Regions from separate parts of the Homo sapiens genome. Here region 2 is linked to region 1. The links are contacts of gene promoters, found by promoter capture Hi-C in human tissues and cell types (Jung and others, 2019). All regions are on one chromosome and are shown on one strand. The core of a region is centred on a gene start or on the middle of the fragment in contact, and the rest is flanking DNA. Distances in the headings are between cores, read along the strand shown.

Evidence for each region. Contacts are between HindIII fragments. The study calls those that stand out against the background at their distance.
Region 2: a contact is called between a fragment that was not itself captured here and the fragment with the promoter of SGPP2 in region 1, in 1 of the 25 tissues and cell types used here (heart left ventricle).

What each region holds. Positions count from the first base shown.
Region 1 is chr2:222,420,398-222,426,006 of GRCh38, forward strand. SGPP2 (sphingosine-1-phosphate phosphatase 2) reads left to right here and starts at 4,146. Exons shown (of 5, transcript NM_152386.4): 1 at 4,146-4,424. The coding sequence starts at 4,206. RefSeq lists enhancers at 3,390-3,689, 4,880-5,029, 5,080-5,139 and silencers at 3,850-4,199, 4,290-4,519, 4,530-4,579. The HindIII fragment of the contact is 9,125 bases long and covers 1-5,609 here.
Region 2 is chr2:222,819,377-222,824,551 of GRCh38, forward strand. No RefSeq gene overlaps it. Among named protein-coding and RNA genes, the nearest start is that of ACSL3, 39 kb to the right of the region's middle. The HindIII fragment of the contact is 3,763 bases long and covers 534-4,296 here.

The sequences.
Region 1 (5,609 bases), core at 2,896-5,395:
ATGAAGAACTTGTAGTATGCAGCTTCTGAAAAGGCTCCCAAGAATCCCTACCATTTACTACTCATATTCTTGTCTCACTCCCTCTGTCCTTCAGTGTGGGCTAGATCTAGGGCCTTGCTTCTATGAAGTAGAATAGGATAAAACTATTGGAATGTTACCTCCAAGATTGGGCTATAAAATACTTCTATTTTGTCCTGTTCAGACACTCTGTATGTCTTGATTTCCTCATTTGCTTGTTTTGGTGAAGTAAAGGGCTGTATAATGAGCTATTCTATGAAGAGGCTGTATAATGAGCTATTCTATGAAATGGCCCATGTGTTGAAAAAGAGGGAATGGCCTGTGGCCAACAGTCTGCAGCTAATTGAATCTACCAACCATCGTCTGAGTGATCTTGGAAGCAAATCCACCTCCAGTTGAGCCTTGAGATGATGTAGCCTCAACCAGCACCTTGACTGTGACCCTGTGAGAAACCAGAGCCAGGGGACCCAGCTAAAACCACTTGGATTCCTGCTCTGCAAAAACTTTGAGATGATAAATGTTGTTGTTTTAAGCTACTATTTTTATGTGATAATTTGTTATGCAGCAATAGATAATCAATACAGAACCCAAATTCTGTATACTTGTCTTGATCCAGGAAGCATTGCCCAATTGAAAACTGAACAGTCTAGTTGTAATTTGGAAGTAACGTGCTTTGCAGAGAAATAACTCTAAATCAGAACTTAAAATGCAATAATGTAATTAATACCAAAATTTTTCATTTATAATGAAGGTATTTTGACAACACTTAAAAAATTACTTTAACTTATTAAAGGTTACCAGGTGTCCCTGCCCCCATTTTTTTTTTTTTTTGAGATAAGATCTCACTCTGTTATCCAGGCTGGAGTGCAGTGGTGTGGTCATGGCTCACTGCAGCCTCAACCTCCTGGCCTCAAGCAATCCTTCTGCCTCAGCCTCCTGAGTAGCTAGGGCTACAAGTTCATGCTACCATGCCTGACTAACTTTTACAATTTTTTTGTAGCAATGGAGTCTCCCTGTGTTGCCCAGGCTGGTCTTGAACTCCTGGCCTCAAGCAATCCTCCGCCTCAGCCTCCCAACGTGCTGGGATTACAGGCATGTATGCCTGGCCAATTGTCTTTTGGAATAACTTATTTTTAGTGTGGCTTCTTTTAAAAAATTCTATCTGCACATGAGTATTTATAACATGCCAAGTGAATGACAAGCTGCCTAGATAAAATGTGTAGATTATGGCTGAATTATAACATGGATTTTTACTGTACAACATTTTAACCAACATTAGTTTCCTAATACTGGTGGAGACTGCTGGTTGCCCACAAAAAAATTCTGTCCTCCACTTCTTCCACAGGAATATAGCTTAAGCTTGACATAAGGTTGCCCTGCTAGAGATAACATTTCCAATTGTTTCTCACTGATGGAATGTTAGTGAAAGTGATGTGTGAACTTCTGCCTCACTTGCTTAATAAGACATTGCTGCTCAGAACACTCTCTCTCTTCACCCTTTCAGGAGCTGAACTTCAGATGTTCAGCCCTAACCCAGATTCAACCATGCAAAAGAGGACGATGACCTAAGGCTCAGTTTCAGGGCATGGTGGAGCAATAAGATGAAAAGAACCAGAGTCATGGAGTAGGGCCATGGAGCAGAGCTTCCTACTAACCTCAACTGCTTGCCTTAGAACCATTCTATGAAAGAGAAATACATGTCTGTGTTCCTTAAGCCACTCTATTTTGGGGTCTCTTTGTTATAGTAGCTTAACCTTTATCCGAACTAGTATTAATATATCCATCATTGATTCCTTTTAAATATGTCATTTTGTAATTGTTACATATATACAAGTGAGCAAAGTACAAATAACTGGATTTCTGCCCTGGCAAAAAAAAAAAAAAAAAAAAAAAAAAAAGGTCGGGGGGCGGGATGTGAAATGTATTTCCCACAGGTATGACTAGTGTTCAGTGATCAAAGAACTACAGGGTGTTTCTCTGGTATCAAGAAAAAAAAATTTTTTGCATGACTGCAAGCTACTATTTGATATCTCTGCACCATTACAGCAGTCTTTCAGTCCTACCACTTCTCAAAGATGTTGATTTTTGTTAGGTTGGTTGGGAAATTCATGTTCAGAATAATCAGACTGGGCCTTAGAAAAAAAAGGTTCTGGGGAAATGGACTTTACCACTGCCCAGGAGGCTCAAGATGTCCTACTCAAGATGTTCAGAGCCAAATTCTCTTGAGGATTCCTTCCTAGATTGAATGACTCCAGCACAATACACCTTCTTATCATGATCTCACTAGGCCTTATAGAGCTTGTCTCAAGGTTATTTTTACAAGAGCCTTATAAGAAAGACAAGAAGTGAGGATTATCATTTCATTACAGGGATAAACTGCGACATATGGTGACTTACATCAGGTGACTTGGTGAGCCACTAGAAGCTGGAATCAGTAACTGATCCTCCATGGAGATAAAATGCTCTGTCTACAAATACAATTCTTTGGCAATTAACTTAATGCTGCGTGTGCCATGTTTTGCTTTGCCTATTTTTCCTAACTGGTAGAAAGAAAAATCGAAGCACTAAATTCGGGAGACACATGATGCAAGTGCCTTCACAGGAAAACATATTTCTTTAACACATAAGCAGAACAGGTCCCCAACGATCACAGCTCCAGCTTCTAAAACCAAACCACAGGGTTTTGCCTCACACCTGTAAATGACAGCCAGAAGCATTGTGGAGAGATGCTTCCACCTCCTGGGCCGGACATTTCTGTGTGTGATCCCGCCAGACATGACAATAACTCTGCGTGTCTTCTGTAAGAGGAAAATGGTTTCCCTTAAGAGCTTCAGCATTCTCTCAGTCCCCTTGACTTTGCTCTCCAGACAGGACTGAGAAGCAAGAAAAGTAGAAACTAGGGCATGAAGGGGACTACATCATCCTGGAAAGTCACATCCCAAAGACATTCAGGCCTAAAAGGACAACTGAATAAATAAGGCATTGACAGGTGTTCATTAATCATTTGTGCAACCAAATTCTTAGTAGGCTTTGCATGGACAATCAGGAAACATGCAGGTTTCTGCTGCAAACGAAAGACGGGGTTGAATTGCACTTTTGTTGCAGACTGATCACCTGGGCCTAATTTGATTGTTGCCTCCCAAGGGATCTCTGAGCCCAGGAGGGAAATGTAGGAGGGAGGAGGGAAAACCAAGGCCGGCCTGCAGGATGTTTCCTTTGCTATCTTCTGCTGAGTGCTCTAAAGCAGGTGCAGGTGCAATGAGATACCTAATCCTGTCCCCAGTCCTCCAGCACTTTGTTCTCTTCTCGTTTAAACTCCCTAAATGGTCTGGTGGGGTTTTCCCAGTGTCATTGCTTAAAGAGAGGCAGAGCGGAAAGAAAGAAGTAGGAGAAAGCGGTAAGCATCTTTGTTCTCAATGCGGAAAACCCAGAAGGGACTTTCCTTCCCACCCACCTGAAAATGTTCCCCAGTTGCCAAATCAGAAGGGCAGGGGCAGCGACGCGGAAGATGACTCAGGGCCCACTTTGAACCTCCTGGGTACTTGAGCAAGCTCAAGGGTGTTCGGACCTCTAGGGAGACGTTGCATCACGCAGTTTGGAAAGAACTTGGGAATTCTCCCTGGGGGGCTCGCTGTATTTACTGGGAACTAGTCTTGCAGGAAGGTGAGAGTACGTGGCTGGCTGTGGGGAGCTGGCGTGGGAGGAAATCCGACTTCACCTTGGGCTCAGAGTTGCAAGGAAGGTCACTGTGGGATCAGCCTGAGCCCAAAAGGATGGGCTAATGGGAGCGGCCGCAGGTGCACGCGCGCTCGGCCGCTCCCATTAGTGTTACGTCTGCCGGGGGAAGAAGGTGGGGTGGGGGGTTGGGGGCGCCGGGAGAAGAGAGGCGCAGTTCGGAGATCGGCACTCCTCCGTCCAGTTACAGGCGGTCCTGCCCCCGTGGCCGCCCGGGGCCGCCCAAGCCCTCCGGGACGGAGAGAAAGGGGGACGCGTTGCGCAAGGTGGAGGCAGACACCTGGGCGGGCGCTAGGACCCGGGCGGCGCACCTGTTGGCTGGGCCCGGGGCCCCGCCCGCCCGGCCTCCGCCCGGAGTGCGGGATCGGCGGGGGCGAGGCGGGAGTGGCGGTGCCAGCGGAGGGCACCGGCCCGGCGTGGCAGCGGCGGCGGAGCGCGGCCCCGGGCACACCATGGCCGAGCTGCTGCGGAGCCTGCAGGATTCCCAGCTCGTCGCCCGCTTCCAGCGCCGCTGCGGGCTCTTCCCCGCTCCGGATGAAGGCCCCCGGGAGAACGGCGCGGACCCCACGGAGCGCGCGGCGCGGGTCCCCGGGGTCGAGCATCTCCCCGCAGCCAACGGCAAGGGCGGCGAGGCTCCGGCCAACGGGCTGCGCAGAGCCGCGGCGCCGGAGGTAACCATGGGCAGGTGTTCGCCGGGTACGGGGAGGGGGCGGCTGCGGACGTGCGGGTCCCTGCGACTCCGCCACGCGGGGCCGGCCGGGCCGAGAGGGCGCCGTCCCCGGCAGTGACCCGGCTCCCGCCGCTGCGAGCGGACGGGGAGGCCTGGCCTTCCAGTAACCAGGATGCCACCCTCCAACGCTGCCAGGGGCAACCGGGTCTATTGAGATATCCCCAGACGCTTTCAATGCAGTCCATTTAGAGACTTCCCACTTTCAAAAGTAGTTAAATTCACGTAGATGCCAGCAAATATGTAAGAGTTACGTAATGGAACGGAGGAGCGGGGATGTCCTTGGCACTTCCCCGGGGAGACGTTCTTAGACTCCCCCCCACCCCCGTATTCTTGCATTTCCGCCCATCCCCCTTCCCTGATGCGCACAAATGCGGGTGCAGCCGGGCTCAGCGCGCTCCTCACCGCGCTGCACCGCCAGCTCTGGGCACAGAACTTGGGGCTCACACAGCTCCTAGAGAGATTTACAACCTCCCTGCACTACCCCCGGCGATGATGTCTTAACAGCAACTCTCGCTTGCCCTCCCCCAGAGTCTGGGGGTCCCTCCTGCCTGGTGGGTCTTTTATGGACCGACACCAGTGACTTCTAACAGATGCTTCTGGGAGGGAAGCTCGCTACGCTCCCGCTAGGTGTTCAAAGCGTGGTTATACAACCCACTGCGGCTTGGGGGGAACCAGCGTGCGTCGTCGTCGCAGTGCACAGGGACTTTAGGCAGCAGGGACCAGACGGGCTGCACTTGGCTTCTGGGGACGCATGTCTACCGGGAGCACTGGCAGCACCTGCCTTTTCCCTCGGCAAAGTCAAAAGTGTGGCGCAGGAGAACAGAAATAAACGTATTAATAATTCGAATTCCTTGTACACAGCCACATTTTGTTCTTCCTAGAAGGTTTTGGTGAAAGAAAGGTGGCCTTTACTTACGTGTAAATTTCTAGATGTAGTAACTGAGGAATTACGAAGAACCTGGCTTCTGTGTGGAATGGAATATTATAGGCATTGGATTACAGAATTTGTTTGGGAGGGTGAGGGTGGTTGTGTGTTCTACTCCAGAGAAATCCTCCTCTGTATTTTTTCCTCTTTATTGTTCCTTCTTTATCCCATGTGACATTCCGGTAACCTATAGATGAGTAT
Region 2 (5,175 bases), core at 1,165-3,664, 400 kb after region 1:
TTTCTGCAAAGTCTCTTTGCTTCTTAGGTTAGTTGTACAAATTACAATCCATTTATCATTCAAGTGTAAGTGTGAAAACGCCTTCTAGGGCAATTATTGAGAAAAGACTGAGTCTCTGACAAAAATAAATACTGACTTAGAACCAGACAGAAACTGTATATTACTAGGAAACCTTTCTCATTAATGGATCAATGAGATCAATCAGTAATTAAGCACTTCCCACAACTCAACACAGAACTCCCTCAATAGCAAAGCCAGTAAAAAATGAGTTTTTACTCATTTTTTTAGGCTAATTTCAAGAAATAGGAGAAAACAAAGAGACCAAAGAAACTAAGAAATCACTGCAATGATAATATGGGAGTCATTATAGGCAGGATTTGGGGACATTTGCCTTCACTTATTCTGGCCTGGTAGATAAATTGGGTCCTGTTTTTTTTCTGCAGCCTTATGTAACAGTCTTACTTTTTCAGGTTGAATGGAGTTCACAGTGGTTCTTAACCTCATTTTCTTCTAGCTAAAAGTTATGACTCATTTATATCTGCAATTGCCTCACCCTTTCATTTTTCAGTGGAGCTAAGGCATCGGGATTATGGGTGGGAGGCAGATCCTCAACAAGAAGCCTGAGGAATGGACTGGAAGATACTAAGGCTGGCAAAGGAACACAGGCTTCTGCCTGCTTTGTTTTCCAGAACTCGGTCTTCCTTTTCTTGGAATGTTGTCTTCATTCTATCTCATCTTAAAAGTCACCTCCTCCAGGCAGCCTTCCCTGACTCTCCAGACCCTCTGTCCTTATTCTTCTTCATCTAGGCATGTGATTATATCACTCCCTGGACCTTAAGGTCATGAAAACTGTGACTTTGTTTTGCCCACAAGTGGCACTGCCAAGATATCACATAGTGCCTGGTGCATAGCAGGTACTGTAAACATGTAGTGAATGTGTGGATTACATCTCTTTTCCGGCATCGAATCCTAAGTTCTGATTGGGTTTGTGAGGCCTGAGTCTGAGTTGTTGGCAAAAGTGAAATTTCCCCAGCACTTAGCAGAGTATCTTCCTTTTTCATCTTGCCTCTCCTTCAGTTGTCCTTCTTACTCACTCATTCCCATTTCAAGCTTGGCTCAAAAAGTGCTAAGTATGGCTTCAATATTTTGCTGATGAAATGGTATCTTTTTATTATCTGGCTAAATATCTTCCTAACCCTGTCATATTCTCTGTAAAAAAGAGATAAGAATTCAGTTATAAAGCCCTTTGAATAAGTTGATTATGATTTTTATAAACTGAAAATAAAATACTGACGTTGAGTGAGTTCAATTATTGCTATAATTGCAGGGAGTCATCTTTTCTGAAATCAAATTTGTAACTTAATCCTTTCAAGAAAAGTAATATTTTGACTATGGCTGGTAATCAGACAAAGAAAAAGTCTTAAATTATAACAGAAAGGCCCAATTAACATTCAAAATTGATTTGCCACCCAGATCATCTAATGGTATCAAGTACAGCATTATTTTCACAAAATGTTTAAAATCGAGGGGGAGATAAAAATTGTGTGAAGCATTTTACCTGAAGTATTAATTAAATGCAATCATTTAATAAGTTAAGAATGTTTAAAAATTTTTTAAATATCCATTTTAATATAGAAATAGAGCTGGGTGCGGTGGCTGACGCCTGTAATCTCAGCACTTTGGGAGGCTGAAGTGGGCGGATCACCTGAGGTCGGGAGTTTGAGACCAGCCTGACCAACACGGAGAAACCCCGTCTCTACTAAAAATACAAAATTAGCTGGGCATGATGGCGCATGCCTGTAGTCCCAACTACTCAGGAGGCTGAGGCAGGAGAATCACTTGAACCTGGGAGGCGGAGGTTGCGGTGAGCTGAGATCGTGCCATTGCACTCCAGCCTGGGCAACAACAGTGAAACTCTGCCTCAAGAAAAAGAAAAAAAAAAGAAATAGAAATGAGGTCTCACTATGTTGTTCAGTCTGGTCTTGAACTCCTGAGCTCAAGTGATCCTCCTGCCTTGGCCTCCCAAAGTGCTAGGATTACAGGCATGAGCCACCACACTCAGCCTAAAATTTTTAAAAATTTGCTCTGGAAATATTAGCAATGTAACAACTTTCAGAATAACAGATGTAGAATAGTGAGAAAATTGATTAAAACTATTAAACTAATTTTTAGGTTAATAATTACAGTTGATCTTCTTTATCTGCAGGTCTACATCCACTAATTCAACCAAAAGTGCATTGAAAACATTTTTTTAAATGGCTGAGTGCAGTGTCTCATGCCTGATATCCCAGCACTTTGGGAGGCCAAGGCGGGCAGATCACCTGAGGTCAGGAGTTTGAGACCAACCTGGCCAACATGGCGAAACCCCGTCTCTACTAAAAATACAAAAAAATTTAGCTGGGCATGGTGGTGTGTGCCTGTAATCCCAGCTACTTGGGAGGCTGAGGCAGGAGAATCAACTGAACCTGGGAGGCGGAGGTTGCAGTGAGCCAAGATCGCATCGCTGCACTCCAGCCTGGGCGACAGAGGGAGACTCTATCACAAAAAAAAAAAATTTTATATATATATATATATTTAAAAACAAACCATAGAAAATGAAACGACAAAGAATAATACAAATTAAAAAACAATACAGTATAATAATTACATACATAGCATTTACATTGCATTAGGTATAAGTAATCTAGAGATGATTTAAAGTATACAGGAGGCTGTACATAGATTATAAGGAAATACTATACCATTTTAAATAAGCGACTTGAGCATTCATGGATTTTGATATCCACAGGGTGGAATTCAATTCCTGGAACCAATTCCTTGTGGATACCAAGAGATGACAATATGTTGCTATATAAATTGGCTATACGGATTTTTCCATCAGTATATCACATTAACGAAGTTTAATTTATCCTTTCATCATATTTTTAACTCAGTGTGATTAAAAATACATTAATACTACTTATTTTTCCAATTCATTTTTTTTATATTGCAGGGAGAAATTTCTGAAAGATTTTACCCAAGAAGGAGAGTTCTTAAATAAGTAGTTAAGAGTGGTTAAATAAGCCAACTTAAAGAAGTAGAATGTGAACTAGTTTTATTTTTAAAGTTTGTTTTACCTGATCAAGAACTTTCAACTTATAACTTAGTTAAAATATTAAAACGTTAGGCCGGGCGCTGTGGCTCACGCCTGTAATCCCAGCACTTTGGGAGGCTGAGGCAGGCGGATCACGAGGTCAGGAGATCGAGACCATCCTGGCTAACACGGTGAAACCCTGTCTCTACTAAAAATACAAAAAAAGTTAGCCGGGCATGGTGGCGGGCGCCTGTAGTCCCAGCTTCTTGGGAGGCTGAGGCAGGAGAATGGTGTGAACCCAGGAGGCGGAGCTTGCAGTGAGCTGAGATCGAGCCACTGCACTCCAGCCTGGGCGACAGAGCGCGACTCCATCTCAAAAAATATATATATATATTAAAACGTTAAGGAGGGAGAAACATTAAGGTATGAATAACAATATAAAGACAGTCTGTATCACATATTTTTCAGAGCTAAAAATAAACAAATGTAAGACATTATTCAATGGCGGGCATGCTTATGCAAACCTAAACCCAAAGTCTGAGGAGGCGGAGAGGCTGAAGAAAGAGGCTGAAATACCTGGTGTCTCAAAAAGAAATGTTTAATAGGGGCTTACCAACAGAACGATATAGTCTTAGGTGGCGGCAAGACCACATGGTGAATCCTGGCACCATTACCCCCCCAGATCCAGGGCATACGTATCACAGGGAAAGGGTGTATGCGATTCAGAGGGGATGTGTAGACAACTGAAGTATGATAACATCAAGGCTATTTTGACCCAAGGGTGGAATACACCGTAAATACATGCTCTTACCTAAAGAACAATAGATAAACTGGAAAGCTTAGAGGCCTTCCCAGAACTGGGGCTAATCAGAAGATAACATGGCAGATGAGCATCCAAGATGGAGTTACTTTTGCCTCCACGGATGTACTAAATTGAACCGAGTGTATATGCAAGTAAAGGTTAACTGCATTCTGTTGTAGTCTGGTCTTGAATGCAGAGAGGATTCTTGTATTGAAGCAAACATGCCTGTTTGGTCATTAATGGATCTAGCGTGTAGAATATCCAGCACTGGCTGAGATCATAGCATGATATTATTTTAATTAGTATGATGTGCTTGATCATGTTCAAAGTTCAAATAAGGTCACATCTTCCTTTAATAATCAAGTTACTTAATCACTGGGGCGCTACTTGCCCAGATGTGCAGAATTCTGCTTTCTCTCTTGAGGGCTTCTCCCAAGAACACTAAGAGGTTACAGAGTCCAGCCAGGCCAGTCCTGCTTCCAAATATCTTGCCAAGGGAGCCTGGGAAAGCTGACTAGTTCACTGGTAGATTTCGCATTTTCTGAGGCTGTGGCTTTTGTGCATGGGCCCAGGTTTCCACTCTGTTTGGCCACAGTTCCCAAAAGCACATCTTCCTTGTCAGAGTAAGCCATGCACTCTGCTGGAACCAGCTCTCAATAATCTAGACCTTGATATTGAGCTTAGGAGTCTAGGCCAGTTCACCCTTTTCTTCTTGGCCAGATTCTCCTTGCAGACCATCTCAGTCCCATATACAGAATCTGAACCCCAAAAGGGTAGGAATTATAAATCTCTACATTTTCCCCAAAGCTTCTAGTTCCCCATGCAAATTTGGCCACATTCTCCCCAAAACATACCACTCCTGCATACCATGGAGTATTGATGGAGCATACTTTGATAGGCCAAAAAACAAAACAACTACAACAAACTAAGACAACTTCAAATAAAAATTTAAAAAAAGCAATGCTTTCCTAAACCAAGACAACATTTATTTGCTGCTGCCATCTAGGCTGAGATGTGTTCAACATTATTTAAATGACAATCTCTCTAAGTAAATTTAAATTCAGCACTAAGCAATAAAACAATATTCAAAGTACAATAGATTTGAAAATAAGTTTATTTCTCAATCTCTTCTTGCGTTAACTTTACTTCCTTCCAATCTTGCGGGTAAAGTGTCTTTACTTCTGGATGAGGAAACTCTAAGACCACTGAACAACACATTGACAAGGAATAGAGCTACCCCTACAGCTTTGATAAACATGTTTCATTGTACACACAACCAAGAAATAGCTCTTAATATTAT